Regions from separate parts of the Homo sapiens genome. Here regions 1, 2 and 4 are each linked to region 3. The links are contacts of gene promoters, found by promoter capture Hi-C in blood cells and fetal thymus (Javierre and others, 2016). All regions are on one chromosome and are shown on one strand. The core of a region is centred on a gene start or on the middle of the fragment in contact, and the rest is flanking DNA. Distances in the headings are between cores, read along the strand shown.

Region 1 (3,834 bases), core at 486-2,985, 1.0 Mb before region 3:
GATGAAGATGACATCACCATATCCTTGATTGTGAAGCTCTGATTTTGAGGAAGGGGACCCAAAGTTAGAGATGAAGATTTGGGAGTCATCAGCAAAGTGGTTCTTAAAACTCTAGGAAGGAGTGTGATATGAGTGGGGGTAAAAATGAGAAGAGGATCTTGAACCATGCTCTGAGGACCAACATTTGGGGACCAGTGAAGGCAGAGAAATTCACAAAGAAAATAGAAAAAAAGTAGCCAGGCAGGTAAGCGGTGTCCCAGATGTCAAAGGAAGCCAGGGCTTCCAGGTGTGAGAGTGGTTCACACTGTCAAATGCACCAAAGTGTAGAGAGAAAAATACCCACTGGATCCAGTGGCAGGGAGGAGCTTCGTGCCCTTAAAAAAAAAAACCGGTTTCAGTTCAGCAGTTCAGTGCTAGGGCAGAATGCCATGGGAGGATGTTGGGGGAGTTGTCTTAAAATTGAGGTATTTTATCTATTTTGCTTAAGCTGTGTTGATGGTTTTCTCATTTTATAGTTCAAAATACCCCATAAAGGCTCAGGACTAATGAAAAACAATTTATTAGGCTATGATATTAACAATTATTTTGTCTATGTATTACCAGTATCTGAAAGCTTGTTAGTATGAATGTGTCAGCGTTTATTCTCACTGAATGTTTTTCAAAGAGATGGGAAGATTACACATCAGAAAATTCCGTTTCTTGATTTAGAATTGATATTAATCCCCAACATTTAGGAAGTAGGGGAATTTAATCATAGGAAGTGCTTATGTTGTTTCAAATTTGATTTTTTAAATAAAATTAATTGAATTATGAGAAATTACTGAAACTTATTTCTTTGAAAAGTCTTGTAGTAAAGAAATTTATTCAAATTCTTTGTATTTTTTTTGTTTGTTTAAAACAAAGTTTTTTTTCTTTTTTTTTTTTTAGCTCTTTTGTGGTTGTTAAAATCCTACTTCTAATTTGTTGGAATAACAAATTTATGCACTGATAGTTTGATCAGATCACACCACGTTTCTGTTTTTTCTTAGGACTGTCAATAAAATAAGGCAGTAAGAATTCTTGATTCATAGCCTAAGTGCATCACAAAAGGGAGGTTACTCATACAGTTATTCTGGCCTTATTCTGTCCTAATTATTATGAAAGTTAATTTTCTTATTAACAGACCTTTGGGTCAAAAAGTGAGAGTGTAATCCCAATCCTTGGGCAAGTCACTTAATCTCAAAGTCTTCATGTCTTTATCTGTAATGGGAGAAACTAATATGATCTGTCCCACAGATGTGGAAGAATGACCTGGCACACAGTAAGTGTGCAGTAACTATTACTAATTAATTAGGGAAGCATTAACTATACAGGGGACAAAGGCAATGATGAGCAGGAAACTGTTTACATCCAGAGTTCTGAGTTACTGATTTAACTGCACTAATCAGTGACTTAGCTTAGACAAGTCATTTAGTCTACTTAGTAAAGTCCCAGAGCACTTGGAGTCTATATGGAATAATATACTGTTTATTATCCAAATATAAGTTAAGCAAATTTAAAATACATACGTTCAGGTTATTTTAAAAAAAAAGAAACTTGACTGGGTCTTTTTTATAGATTCTCTGGGCTGCAAATTTTAGGTATTATCTAATGATTTTTCGTTGTATCACCCAGAGACTCCACTGAATTTTTTGTTAAAAGGAAGGAAAAAAAGAAAAGCCGTAGCAGGTGTTGAGGTGTGTGTGATACCTTTGAAATGACTTTAAGCATCCCATAACATCTTTTTGTTCTCTTGTTTTTTGAATTATCTCTTGCTGCTTCTGCATTTTACTCAAATCGATTTTCAAATATTTTCTTTCAATAAAGAATCAGAGGGAAAATAGGAACTTGGGATTTACTTGCTTAGTGCCTGTTGCGTGATAGCAGCGGAGCTCTCAGGAAAGCTGGTTGGAGAATTGGTGATGGAGCACTTGGATTGTTAGGTGGGGATGCCGTGAGCCTTGCCACGTTCCCTTCTCCCCCTACATCTCACTTTATACTCATGCCAAGGAATATTGGCTGTTGATTATACAGTCATCCCTGGTTGTCTGAGGGGGATTGGTTCCAGGACTCTTCAGGCATCAGACTCCAAGGCTGTGCAAAAGTCCCTGATATAAAATGGCCTAATAATTGCATATAACCCATGCCCATCCTCCATATACTTTAAATCACCTCTAGATTACTTAAAGACCTAATATTAATGCAATGTAAATGCTATGTAAATAGTTGTTATGCTGCATTGTTTAGGGAATAGTTACAAGAAAAAAAGTCTGTACATATTCAGTACAGTCACAGTTTTTTAAATGTTTTCAATCTGCAGTTGGTTGAGTCCACAGATGTGTAACCCACAGATACGGAGGACCAACTGTGTTTACTTACAAAACGAGATGAATCAATTCACTTATCAGTACTCGCAGCAAGTGTTTTCCTGACTGCTAAGACTGCCTATGGTAAAATCCCTGTCTTCTGACTGCTGTGAGACAGCCTGGATTCCACAGAGTCCGAAGGAATTTAGAAATTATGAAAGGCTTCTGTGTGCAGAACAAGGACTACAAATATGGCCTTTAGTGCCCAAAACCATATTGTCTGCAAGTCTTGGAGATTGTATTAGCTCCATAGCAGTTATCTTAGCTGTTGTTTCATGCCTCATTGTTGCCTATCATCGAGATTTTTTAGAAGGAATATAGTGTTCTATTTCTTGTCTCAGAAAAACATAAAGTATTAAACTTTTTTTTTAGCAAGCTCATGAAATTTCATCTTCTAGCAGTTAAAACATTCTCAGTTCTCAACAGCTAGAGTTAAAAAGTAAAAGTTATTGAAAATATCGTCTGTCTTATTACTAAGCTTCAGAAATTGGATTTTAAAAGAAGAAGAAAGAATATTAAAAGTCAGAGGAAGGAGAGCAAGACAGCTAAATGTCTAGCGAACCACCACCAAGAGCCAGTAGCACTCTGTACGTATTCCTGGCCTGATCTTACAGACAAGGTCAGGCCTTAGAAATATTCGGTAACTTTTCCTAGCTTGGCTAAGCAAGATGTAATGAGTAGATAGTGGAGCTAGCATTCAAATGAGATCAAACTGAAAAACACAGATTGCTTTCCATTCTATTCAGTTTCCCGTATGTTTTCTCCATCACAAAACACAATATTGTCTAATTGATTTGCACAAAGATATGCCTGTTGGCAGTTTTAAAGACCATGTCCCAATAATTGCCTTCTATTAAGACAAAGAAAAAAGTTATATTCCTCCAATCCCTGTTGTGTTCTTGTTATGTTTGAAATGTGCTTGGTCCTAAGGATCTGAAAATAACCAGGTAAATACAGAAAAGAAGTGAAATCTGTACTAGGCCCTGAAGGATGAAAAATCCACGTGTGCTTACAGAGAACAGGAAAACAATGGCCTTCAGCTGAAGCTGGCACCTTTTAAAGGACAATTTTATATTTATTTCTGCATTAATCAAAGTTCTAGTCAGTGCCCAGGTCCAAAGTATCTTGTTTGGAGCTGTGTTTGGAGAGGGTGGGATATTGAGTAGGGGTGAATGATGAAGGGGTTCATTGAAGCCGCTGAGAGCACATATTCGCTGGTTTTGTGTGTTCAGGTCCACATTGCTCCAAGGTGAAAGCAGTTGCTTTGAAGGCATGAAGAGAGGCACTTTTTCTTCATAGCTGTCTTGAAGCAGGCCGGGGCGAGTCTCACAGAGTTTGCCCTTGTACTTCAGGCTCCATTTCCTGAGCTGTGTATGATGGGGCCCGCCCCTCCTGTGGTGAAGAGTCTGTGGCTGCTGAGTGGCATTTCAGTCAGACCTGAACTGAGCCT
Region 2 (3,953 bases), core at 379-2,878, 2.0 Mb after region 3:
AGGGTAAAAATCAAGTTTTTTTGTTGTTGTTTTCTTGTTTGAGACAAAGTTTCACTTTGTCGCTCCAGCTGGAGTGCAGTGGCATGAACACAGCTCACTGTAGCCTCAACCTCTGGGCCCAAGTGATTCTCCTGCTTCAGCCCCGCAAGCAGCTGGGACTATGGGCGCATACCATCACACCCTGCTAATTTTTGTATTTTTGTAGAGACAGGGTTTCACCATCTTGCCCAGACTGGTCTCGAACTCCTGTGCTCAAGCACTCTGCCTGCCCCGGCCTCCCAAACTGCTGGGATTACAGGTGTGAGCCACTGCATCTGGCAGAAAATAAAAAGTTTTATGAGCTAGGCATAGGGGTTCACGCCTGCAATCCCAGCTCTTTGGGATGCCAATGTGGGAGGATTGCCTGAGCTCAGGAGTTCAAGGCCAGCCTGGGCAACAAAAGGAGACTCCATATCTACAAAAGAATTTTTACAAATTAGCCAGGTGTGGTGGTGCATGCCTGTGATGCCAGCTACATCAGTGGCTGAGGCAGGAGGATGGCTTGAGCCCAGGAGGTTGAGGCTGCAGTGAGCCATGATCATGTTCCTGCACTCCAGCCTGGGCAAGAGAGCAAGACCCTGTCTCCAAAAGAAAAAAAAAAAAAGTATATCTAAAACTTAAAAACATCCCATAAAAACTTACAACACATCCCATAAGGTTATACCAAGGGTATAAACGTTGGTCTATAGTCCTCAGTGAGACTTCTAAATAAAACTAATTATGTAAAAGCTTGATTTTTTTTTTAAGTTGACAGAAGGTAAGCAAATTAACTGGGGAACTGTAGTGGGGATGTTAAACAGTAGAGTACCCACATACAATTAATTTTGGCTACTCTAGGCACGCTGCCTATGGGATAGCCCTGCTCCACAAGGAGCAGTTAAAAAAAAAGAAAAGAAAAATAAAAGATTTGGACATGTTGAGATGCTAAAGAGTATCCAAGAATAGATATCAAGTTGAATAGCAATCTTGAGGAAAGGCTGGAATCACATAAATCAATCTGGTAGTAAGCAACACAGAGATGAAATTTAAAATTATAGGAGTAAATGGAATTAACCAGGAAGGCAGTACAGAAAGAGAAGAGCAGGGGCCTAGCTCCAAGACCCAGGGAAATGTAGTCTTTATAGGACAGGGAGAGGAGGGAAAATCAGCAAATCAGACTGTGGAGTGGTGAGGAAGGGTAGTGTTTCATGGAGGAAGAGCTGGCCAACAGAGTCCAGTGCTTTGCGGAGATCAAGAAAGGAAAGAACAGGGAATGTCTTTTGGCTTTGGCAACATATAAGCAGTTGATGCCCTGACAAGAGCAGCTTTAATGACATGACTAGAACAGAAGTCAAATGAAACTGAAGCTGAATGAAAGATGAGGAAGAGATAATAGTGTTTATGTATTAAACTGTATGACACTGCTGAACTTTCACAATTTTTGATGTACAAAACCAAAAATTTCATGACTCCTTTTTTTTTACATTTGACAGAAGAAAAATGAACATATGGGGCAGTAGTTATAAAGGAATATGAGATCAAGCAGAATCAGAAAGAAGAGAGTTGCGGGTTTTAGTGGGGAACACCAGAGCCTGTTTGTACATGGATAAAAATGATGGAGTTGGCTGGGAGCATGTTTGTACACTGATAAAAATGAGGCAGTTGGCTGGGCGTGGTGGCTCACACCTGTAATCCCAGCACTTTGAGAGGCTGAGACAGGTGGATCACTTGAGGTCAGGAGTCCAAGACCAGCCTGGCCAACATGGCGAAACCCTGTTTCTACCAAAAATAATAAAATTAGCCGGGTGTGGTGGCACACGCCTATAATCCCAGCTACTTGGGAGGCTGAGGCATGAGAATTGCTTGAACCCAGGAGGTGGAGGTTGCAGTGAGCCGAGATCATGCCACTGCACTCCAGCCTGGGGACTAAGAGAGTCTCAAAAAAAGAGGCAGTCATCAGCTGAAAGAAAGGTGGGAGAAAGGAAGGTTTGATAATCAAAGAAATGACATGAAATAATCTTTAAATAGAATAATGTGAGACAAAATAGAAAATGTTAAGCCAGGTTTGCTTATTTCTGCTTGAACCCCTGACTGTGATGAAATGCAGCTCCTCAGGAAGAATCTTAAAACAGGATAGAGCACACGGCCCCCCGTGTCACTCGCCTGAGTTACAACGTTCCTGAAACAGTAAATGAACTTGACCTTGCCTTTTCCTACATGAAGATGTCTGACAGGGTTAGTGATTATGCTTCTACAATCTATAACCAAATTACTTTAGTAATCTATAAACTGATGTACTCTTACACCCAAACTTTAATGAGATTTCACACATACAGAACCCCCACAACCTACATAGAAGCAATGGGCTGAGGGACCACTTTGGAGCCCTGTGAAAGAACTGCCCTCAGGGTATAAACCTTGGTCTACAGTCCTCAGTGAGACTTCTGAATAAAACTAACTTTAATTATGTAAAAGCTTAATTTTTTTTTTGACAGCAGGTAAGCAAATTAACTGGGGAACTGTAGTGGGGATGCTAAACAGTACAGTACCCATTTGTTAAGGGTTGGTCGTGAATTTATGGGAGAGGCTAAAAACACAAATGCCAACAGGAGCCAGGCAGGTAAATGACTGAAGCAGGCTGAGTGATGAAGGAACTCAAGAATGAATGCCCCATCTAAAGGGGAAGCCAGTGGAGTGGCCATCAAGACTATCAGCTCTATGCTGCCAGATCTCCTGATTTCTCAAGGGAAGCCAGAAATCTTTTTTTTTTGATATGTTAATTTTTAAAACACTCTATGGGCTCAAAAAAATATTTCCAAGTGCAAAAAAATATAGTGCATGGATGACTAGTTTCTGATTTGTCATCACACCAGATTACAAGATTTTCTTCAACGGTGCTCAGCTGTGGAGGTACTGTCACGGTTGCATTTATCCAAGGTTCGGTATGTGCTAAGAAAGTGATGGGGGCCAGGCGCGGTGGCTCACGCCTATAATCCCAGCACTTTGGGAGGTGGAGGCGGGTGGATCACCTGAGGTCAGGAGTTGGAGACCAGCCTGGCCAACATGGTGAAACCTCGTCGCTACTAAAAACAAAAAAATCAGCCAGGTGTGGTGGCGGGCGCCTGTAATCCCAGCTACTCCTCGTGAGCCTGAGGCAAGAGAATCGCTTGAACCCGGGAGGCAGAGGTTGTGGTGAGTCGATGTCGCGCCACTGCACTCCAGCCTGGGCAACAAGAACAAAATTCCCTCTCAAAGAAAGAAAGAAAGTAATGGGAAAGGAAAAGTGACCTGAGGAAGTGAGTGCTAACAGAGTGACTGTAATAATGAACTACAGAAAATTAAGTTAAAGACAATCTAGAAGCCAAGGGCTAATGGTTACAGTGAAAGTCTGGAGGAGTCAACGTATTGAAGGAATCAATACCAAATCCTATTCCTCCTCAAGTTCTTCAGCAAATGATGTTAAGTGCTGATGACGATGGTCACAGAATGTACACATTTAAAAAATGGTGCTGACGCAGTTCTTAGAAATTACAACTTTCAGGTGCATCAGGAGAGTGAGTCGAAGACATGCAAATTTCAAAAGCGACTGGACGATATTATTTATATTCAGTCTGATAAGGGATTTTGTTAACTTAGCTGACTTTTTAAAAATGCATCCTAAAAATACATACAATCATGAGAAAAACATGAGACAAATTCCATGATTAGGACATCCTACAAAATACATGACCAGTACTCCTCAAAACTCTCAAGGTCACCAAAAGTAAGGAAAGTTTGAGAAACTGCCACAGCCACAAGAGGCATATAAGGAGACATCATAACTAAATGTAATGTGGTATTCTGGATGGAATCCTGGAACAGAAAAAGGGTATTAGGTAAAACCGAAGGAAATCTGAATAAAATGTGAACCTTAGTTAATAACAGTGTAAAATATT
Region 3 (3,865 bases), core at 646-3,145:
GGTGCCATCTTGGCTCACTGCAATCTCCACTTCCCCGGTTGAAGCAATTCTCCTGCCTCAGCCTCTGAGTAGCTGGGATTACAGGCGCCTGCCACCATGCCCGGCTAATTTTTGTATTTTTAGTAGATATGGGGTTTTGCCAGGTTGTCCAGGCTGGTCTCGAACTCCTTACCTCAAGTGATCCGCCCACCTCGGCCTCCCACAGTGCTGGGATTACAGGCGTGAGCCACCGTGCCCAGCCTTTTACCGGTTTTCGATTGTGTGCTATGCACCGTAGAAAGCATATGAAAAATAGAGGAGCTTCGAACTGATGCAGAAGGAAGTCACGTGCACTTAGCTACTACATAATACATATCTGGAACCAATACAAGAACCTGATCCAATGTCCACTCTAGTCCTCTTTTCCTCTGTGCACCTTCTACGAGTTTGGTTATAGACTTAAGCACCCTTCCATTTTCAAAATTTAAGTACCCACAACTTGAATTCTCAAGTTATTTTATCTTTCTTCTCTTAAAAAAAAATGTTAAGGGGTTAGTTTTCAGAATCTTCAATTTTACTAGATACGGTATGCACAATGTTAAAGACAAGCTCCAATAAAAATTTATGTATACCTTTAAAAGGTTTGTGAAACATTTAAAAAATTTTTAAAAACACAAATTCTTCTTGGAACAATGAAGATAACGAACATCTGTGGTTCCCTAAATGAGCCGTAATTTTAAGATGGGCAGCAACTAAAGGGCTTCAGCTTTGCCAAAACGTCAAGAGGCTGCCTTGCAGTGGGCTCGCAGTGATTTTAAAATGTTATTCTTCTCGTCTCGATTTATGTTTTTCTCCCTCTCAAAGTTAAACTTAAATGTCGTTGGAAACGTAATTTGGTAACATTCTGATGTCATTTCCTTCCGTTTTTAAATTTGTAACGAAATAAAAATATTTGTTCGTTCTCAAAATGAAGGTCTTCCACACACAAAAATTAAGCATGGAGTGCAATAAGGTCAATCGAATAAAGCTGCATCCGACCTTTTAAAATATGGAATAACATTTTTCCCTTCTCCAGAACTCTTGACTACTGACACAGGACAATGCCTGAAGTATGAAGCACAGACACGGAAACACCGGATGCGAAAGACTGGAGACCGAGACAGCAAAGGGAGGTGGAGCGGAGTGCTGATCTCGGTTCCTCCAAAACTCGTACTGTGAATCTGTGACACGGGACAATGAAATGTGAGCAAGGACAAGCTTACACAGCATCATAATGTTAATTTGAAGACGGTTTTCCGGTTGATGAGGCAACGAAAGGCTGAAAGACTCCAAAGTTAAAGGAGCCCCAATTTTGCCCGAGAAAACGTAGAGCTAGGAGGGCGGTGACCAGTTTTCCCAGACTTATCTCTACGCACTCCAAGATGCTGAAAGTGGGACCCCTGCTCCTGTAGGTACAGGAGGCCTCTGCACCCCGCTTGGCCCAAGCTAACCCTGCCCTCCCAGACCAGGCCTGGCCAGACCCTCCCGCCCCGGGCCGGGTCTCCGCCGGGCCGGCTCCCAGCCCCAGTCAGGCCAGCAGAGCCTTCGTCTCCTCCTGCCTCAGCCGGGTCAGAGCAGGGCCCCTGAAGACTGGCGATCCCGCGCCCGACTACCTTGGTCGTCCGGATATGCTCCATCGCAAGGAGACGTCAGCCGGCAGCCGGTCTCACAGGCGTACCATACGGCTACAGAAACAGGGCGGTGACAGCGACAGAGAGCAAGCGGGAACTCCCTCCACCAGCCAGCGCCGCGGGTCTGTCTGCCGGCCCCGGTGGCGTCAACGGCGCAGGTGCAGCCGGTGAGCGCCGTCTCCTAGAAACACTTCCCCAAACCCCGCGGCCTCCCGGGGGACTCGGGGCAGGCAGACAGAGCGTGTGTGGACCGAGAGCGGCTTGCTGGTTCGTCCCGGACAGCGGCGGATCCCACAGCGCCCCCTGCTGGAGGAGGCCGGTACTGCTCACCACCCCACCCGAGGCGGTCTTTGTCATCCCGCCGAGCGGACGCGCGGGGCGGTCGGGGAGGAAGACTGCGTGAGAATGGATCCCGAGTAAAGGGTTCTTGTGGGGTGAGGGCAAGAGTGGAGGATGTTCTGAAGTCCATCGCCATACCACTGGACAGCACCAAATTTAGTTTGAGCTGCAGTTCTACTCATAAGAATGTATTCTAAGGAAATAATCAGATTTGGAGTTATTATTCTAAGGAAATAACCAAATAAGGAAACCAGCCTTATTTGAAACAATCAACTCTCCAATCCTACGGATTCCTTATGTAAAGTATGATGATTAGCTAGTCCTCAATCTGGTCTGGTGTCAGAGTCCCGCCTCCTACCTCAATTTCATACGATGTTAGCACCAGCATCCATTAAAACTCATCCTGTAGAGGGATATCACATAACGAAAATGTTAATGCTGCATTACTGAGTGAAGAAAAAACTGACTATGGAACAATAAGTTCAATGTAGCCGTGCTCTGTAATTTTTATTTATGTAAACAAAAAGTTTACATTTCTAGGTGAGGGTTACAGGTAATTTTTGTTAGAACACGTCTAATGTGGTACTTCTCAGCCTGGAGTGAGTTTTCTCCCCGGGGGACATTTGGTAACATCTGGAGATATTTTTGGTTGTCTCAAATGGTGGTGGTGGGGGGGTGGCGGCGGGGGGCAACTGGTGGGTGGAGGCCAAGTCACAAGTCGGCTGCTGAACACCCTACTAGGCACCAGACCAACCCCCCAACTACAGGGAATTATCCGGCAGATGACAACAGTGCAGAGGTTGAGAAACCCTGCTCTATGCCAGGCGCGGTGGTTCACGCCTGTAATCCCAGAACTTTGGGAGGCTGAGGCGGGCGGATCACTTGAGGTCAGGAGTTAGAGTCCGAGAAACTCTGCTCTACGTTTTGTAAGTATTCTGTACTAAGCCGGTTAAGGTTTGTAATCTTCATCTTTCATACTGTGATTGGTGTTAGAAAAGCCTAACATCTAAATTTTCTTTTATAATTAAAAATTTTGTTTCACTTATTTGTTTCATTTTGTTCAAGTTGTCTTGGTTTGTTTTGTTTTGAGTGCCTACGATGTTTCAGACAGATTGCCAAAGCAATGGAGATGGTTATTAAACACAACAGCCTTTGCGGTGGAGTTGCTGACTCCTCTAAGCTAAATATGTAATAAGAGTTACATTAAACCACCTAGAAACCAACCTTAGTACAGTATCACATCCACCCCCTCCCCCCGAAAAAAAACCCCACAAATCCTGCTCAGAAAAAAAAAAAAATATATATATATATATATATACACATATATATATATATATATATACATATATATATATATACACATATATATATATATAGAGAGAGAGAAAAGTAATGTAGGTCTTTACTGAGGATTGCTTTTTGAGAAAACAGAAAGAGGTGAATTGTATAGCATACAGCAAGACTTTCTTAACAAAACTTTTTATATCATTTTCCTCCCAATTTACAACTTCCTCCTTCCCCATTCCCCTACAGATTATCCTCCCTCTTCTCATCTCCTCACTTCCTGTGTCCTCTCTTTACCAATTCTCACAGAGAGGCAATCATAATGATGTCAGGTGACCAAATGTACTGAGTGCTTTACGGGTATTCTGAGGAAAATGCTATTGCTTTCTTTATTTTAGAGATGAGACAAGCGAGACACAATGAAGTGAAGTAACTTGCCCAATATCACATAGCAGATAAAGCCAAGATCCATGTTATAAAGCCAGACAGGCTGACTTCAGAGTCTGTATTCTTAACAACTGTTTTACATTGATTTGCTTCTCAAAATCCATATTAAAGTTCTATTTATGTTAATATGATAGGCTAGAAAATTA
Region 4 (4,300 bases), core at 1,222-3,721, 1.9 Mb after region 3:
CATAAATTATGATCCCTACATATAAGCTCATGAGGAACTAATGAAACGAATTTGTCTCATCATGTGGAAAACTGTGGTCCTTCTGGCCACGCACAAAACACCAAGTTTTAAACGCGCCCACGTTTTGCTTAATTCGGGACTTCCAGCGGGCATTAGCACTTTTCCCTTACAGTCTATTTAAACGCCCTAGGAAAACAAATACCATCGCCTTGGCAGGCGGTCCCCGCACAGACAGACCTAGCTCCAGCCACATACAGATGTGTCTGGTGGGCTGAAGTAAACAAATGACAGGAAAGCTAATGCTGCTTTTCAAGATTAACGTGCATTCCCAGAGACAAGACTGCCACCTGGACACACGGCTGGAAACGGGAGAGCTCGTGCCTCTCAGAGGAGAAAATGGAGAGAATTTCAACAGTACTTATTTAAAGTTTCCACCTTCACACACGCCCCTTTCCCCCAGCGCGGGGTCGGGGACTCGGCCCAGCCAGCGGCGCGAGGAAATCTGCACTTGACTTCCGTCCTCTCCCAGGCGGGAATGAGCGCTGCCCGCCCCGGCCGAGACCCTTCCTTCCTGCCCGCCGACCCCCACCCCTCCCGGGGACCCCTCCCGCTCGGCGCGCGACCAGAAGGAAATGGAGCCCGCGCGGCTCCGCGCCCCCTCCCCGACGACCCCGGCCCGGGGCCGCGCTCTGGCTCGCGCGCGCCCACCCCTCACCCCGGCACAGGCCGGGCGCGCCTCGGCCCTCGTCCCCGCGTCCCGAGCGGACCCCAGCAGTTCAGCCGGGGACTCCCGGAGGCCGGTGCCCGCCCGACGCCGCGTCTGGCACGGTCGCCCACTCACCGCTACCCTCGCGCCGCCCTGGCCCACCAGGCGGCGCCCCCTCCCCAGCCGCCTGGGCCGCTCACCCCCGCGCTCCCCGCCTGCGCGCCGTCCAACCGCCCCCGCCCGGGCCGCCCGGGCCGCCCAGCCCGCCCGCCCGCCCCGGCGCTAGGCCCCGCGAGCGGCCACTGGGAGAGGCGGGTCCAGCGCCGCCCGCCCGCCCGAGAGGTCCCGGCAGCCCCGGCCGCCCGCTCGCCGCCACCTACCATGGTACAGATGGAGGCGAATTTGGAGACTGTCATTAGGATTTCCATCCGGCCAGCGCCATCTTCCACCCAATCACAGCGGCGGCGGCGGGCGGGGGAGGAGGGGAGCCGGGCCGCCCGCTCGCACCGCAGCCCGCGGGCGGACCCCGAGCCGCCGCGGACCCAACCACCGAGCCCGCTGGGCCGCCGCTGCCGTCGTCGCCGCCGGCGCTCAGGCACTCCCGGCCTCGGGCCCCAGCCCCCGCCTGCCGGCCGCCGGCCCGCCCCCGGCTCCGCCCCGGCGCAGGGCGCAGCCGCTGCCTCCGGGCCCGCGCCTGCACGCGAAGCCGCCCTCCGCCCACCCCGCCCAGCGCACAGGGGAGCGGGCTCCGCCGAGGCCCTAATGCCCGGCCTGCCAGGCAGCGGCGCGGCCAGGCGGCGCAGCCCCGCCCACCCCTCGGCAACCCCTCCGCGGCCCTTGTGCGCGAGCCGGGGAACTCCGGTCCGTCCCCACCCCGCGCGCGGCAGAGGGCAGGACCGAAGGCGGGCGCCACCTCCTGCCCGCGTCCCTGCGGTCCTAGAGCCGGGGACCCAGAGACCCCCGCGTAGGAAGGGGTGCGGCGGGGAGGCGCGGGGGTGGCGGCGGCGATCTGGGAGAACCCTGGAGGGGACCAGCTGCGACACCCACCGCGGGCGAGGGGACGGCGAGCCCCCGCTGCCTAAACAGAAAACGGAGGCGATGATCTGGGTAACTACGGGCGGAGTGGGAGGAAACCTGCTCTGCACAGTTAAGATAACCCGGGTATGCGTCCCAAGCACTTGGTTTGTTTCTTTTTACGTATATTGGATGAATCACCGGAGTCAAACACAACTTAGAAAAAGACAAAATAATTAAACAAAAATGAAGAGGCAAAGAACAAATTACACATGTTTAACTCTTTGAATTAAGAAGAAAGATAAGTAATGGGGGAAGGAGAGGAGCGAAACCTGTTGGCCTGTTGGCGATAAATTTATAATAGGCTTCTAAATATCTGCACATTGAGCTGCAAAATAGGGAGGATCTCAAGCCAGCAGTGATGATGATATTACCAGAGACAGGAAGCCCGCAAGCAAGAAAAATGCCCTGTGAGAAATCCTTAGGCAGTGCTGGCTACTGGCATGGGTAGTTCCTCTTTCTCCTTTTATAAAATTCATATTTGCACCCTGTTCTTCATGCCTGGCAGCTCAGCTTTATTTTTTCCTATTTGAGAAAGTAGTTCAAGTGAGTAGAATAACTTCATAAATTATTATGTTAGAAAGCTTGTGATATTTTCTGATTGAACTCGTGATGGGGTACTTTTCTGGGTTCCCCTAATTCAGTGGGGTTGAGGATCTGAATTCAGGCAGAGCTGTAAAATCAGAAATGCCTCACCTCAAGGGTTCAAAGCACTCAAAAACAAAAAGCATTCAAACAAAATTTAAGTGAAAAATAGACTTCTGGTACATGAATACTGTTTCCATAGTGATTCCATTATAAGCTTGCTTGGGGGGGGAATGCAGATTGAATATAGCCAAGCCCCATGGTAGCCGGACTGGATCTCCAAGCGCCTGCCTCCATGGAAGCCAAGAGCCCTGATACCCCAGCCAGGGGCTTTCCTCTCTATACTTGCAAGCATCACCCACCTGAATTCTTTCTTGCTCTTTTCTACCCCCTGTTTGGACAAGGGTTTCTACATCTTAGACCTCTAGGGCCTACCTGGGCCTTGTCCGAGTGTCACCATGCCCATCTGTGTGCCCGTCCTGATAAATAGCTGTGGTCATCCTGTCCTTCCCACTTGCTGTTCTATTCCAGCAAACAGGTCTGATGTGCCAGAATTTTAGACCTGCCTCCATCCCGCTAACCACCCATATGCCTCCTTGTCCATTAATCCGAACATGTCACAGGAACAAAAGCCACTGGCTTTACATATAAGTTTATATAAGAACAAGGCCTTTCTAAAATGAATTTCTAGGCTGAGTATGGTGGCTCACACCTGTAATTCCAGCACTTTGGGAGGCCGAGGCAGGTGGATCACTTGAGGTCAGGAGTTGGAGACCAGCCTGGCCAACGTGGTGAAATCCCGTCTCTACTAAAATACAAAAATTAGCCAGGCGTAGCAGTGTACGCCTGTAATCCCAGCTACTCAGGAGGCTGAGGCATAAGAATAGATTGGATCCTGGAGGTGGAGATTGCAGTGAACTGGGATTGTGCCATTGCACCCCAGCCTGGGTGACAGAGTGAGACTCTCTCAAAAATAAATAAATAAATAAATTTCTAGGCTGGGCACAGTGGATCAGGCCTGTAATCCCAGCACTTTGGGAGGCTGAGGCAGGAGGATGGCTTCCAACTTCCTTGAGACCAGGGAGTTCAAGACCAGCCTGGGCAACATAGTGAGACCTTGTCTCTACTAAAAATAAAAATAAATACGTGGTGCATGGTGGCGCATACCTATAGTCCCAGCTACTTGTGAGGCGAAGTAAGAGGATAACTTAAGCCCGAGATATCCAGGTTGCAGTGAGCCATGATTGAACCACTGCACTGTAGCCTGAGCGACAGACTGAAACAGTATCTCAAAAATACAGCACAGTGGCTCTCGCCTGTTGTAATCCCAGCACTTTGGGAGGCCAAGGCGGGCGGATCACTTGAGGTCAGGAGTTTGAGACCAACCTGGCCAACATGGAGAAAGCCCATCTCTACTAAAACTACAAAAATTAGTTGGGCATGGTGGCGAGCACCTGTAATCCAAGCTACTAGGGAGGCTGAGGCAGGAGAGTCGCATGAACCTGGGAAAAACCAGTGAGCCGAGATCATGCTACTGCACTCCAGCTTGGGCGACAGAGTAAGATTCCGTCTCAAAAATTAAATTAAATTAAATTTTAAAAAGTAAAATGGATTTCTGATAGAATTATCTGGAGTCATGTCTAGTTGATGTTGGAGCCATCTAAATTCACAGGTAAAGTCATGAAACCTAATCACAGAGCCTCACAATGCCTTGTCTCCACAGCCTATGGTCGATTGGAGAGACACAAACATAAAAGAGACATTCTTGAATCTATGTGCTAGGTGTTGTACTGAGTGTTCTTTACCATATGTAATGCAGTTGGAGAATAAGTTTGGCTGAAACTCCACACTTTTGCACCCTGAGCTTGGAAAGGGTAATCTGGCTTTAGAACACAGCTTTACACAGCTGTGTAATCAGCTTTACAAAGAGCTTCC

The links. Contacts are between HindIII fragments. The CHiCAGO score rates a contact against its expected background, and 5 or more counts as called.
Region 1: a contact is called between a fragment that was not itself captured here and the fragment with the promoter of MTMR6 in region 3, in 1 of 17 cell types (total CD8 T cells). The highest score is 5.6, in total CD8 T cells.
Region 2: a fragment that was not itself captured here is called in contact with the fragment with the promoter of MTMR6 in region 3 in 1 of 17 cell types (neutrophils); the score reaches 6.1 in neutrophils.
Region 4: a contact is called between a fragment that was not itself captured here and the fragment with the promoter of MTMR6 in region 3, in 1 of 17 cell types (total CD8 T cells). The highest score is 5.2, in total CD8 T cells.

Annotation. Positions count from the first base shown.
Region 1 is chr13:24,261,398-24,265,231 of GRCh38, forward strand. All of the region lies in intron 4 of SPATA13 (spermatogenesis associated 13), which reads left to right. Among named protein-coding and RNA genes, the nearest start is that of SPATA13-AS1, 8.9 kb to the left of the region's middle. The HindIII fragment of the contact is 2,249 bases long and covers 612-2,860 here.
Region 2 is chr13:27,246,453-27,250,405 of GRCh38, forward strand. No RefSeq gene overlaps it. Among named protein-coding and RNA genes, the nearest start is that of RPL21, 3.1 kb to the right of the region's middle. The HindIII fragment of the contact is 1,725 bases long and covers 767-2,491 here.
Region 3 is chr13:25,285,593-25,289,457 of GRCh38, forward strand. It overlaps MTMR6 (myotubularin related protein 6), which reads right to left and starts at 1,896. Exons shown (of 14, transcript NM_004685.5): 1 at 1,632-1,896. The coding sequence starts at 1,655. RefSeq lists enhancers at 1,276-1,896, 1,600-1,939, 2,040-2,209. The HindIII fragment of the contact is 4,901 bases long and covers 1,235-3,865 here.
Region 4 is chr13:27,170,506-27,174,805 of GRCh38, forward strand. It overlaps USP12 (ubiquitin specific peptidase 12), which reads right to left and starts at 1,306. Exons shown (of 9, transcript NM_182488.4): 1 at 1,087-1,306. The coding sequence starts at 1,134. It overlaps USP12-DT (USP12 divergent transcript), which reads left to right and starts at 1,754. Exons shown (of 2, transcript NR_046548.1): 1 at 1,754-1,867. RefSeq lists enhancers at 283-392, 1,893-2,082 and silencers at 633-682, 713-782, 853-942, 1,003-1,052, 1,193-1,832. The HindIII fragment of the contact is 218 bases long and covers 2,363-2,580 here.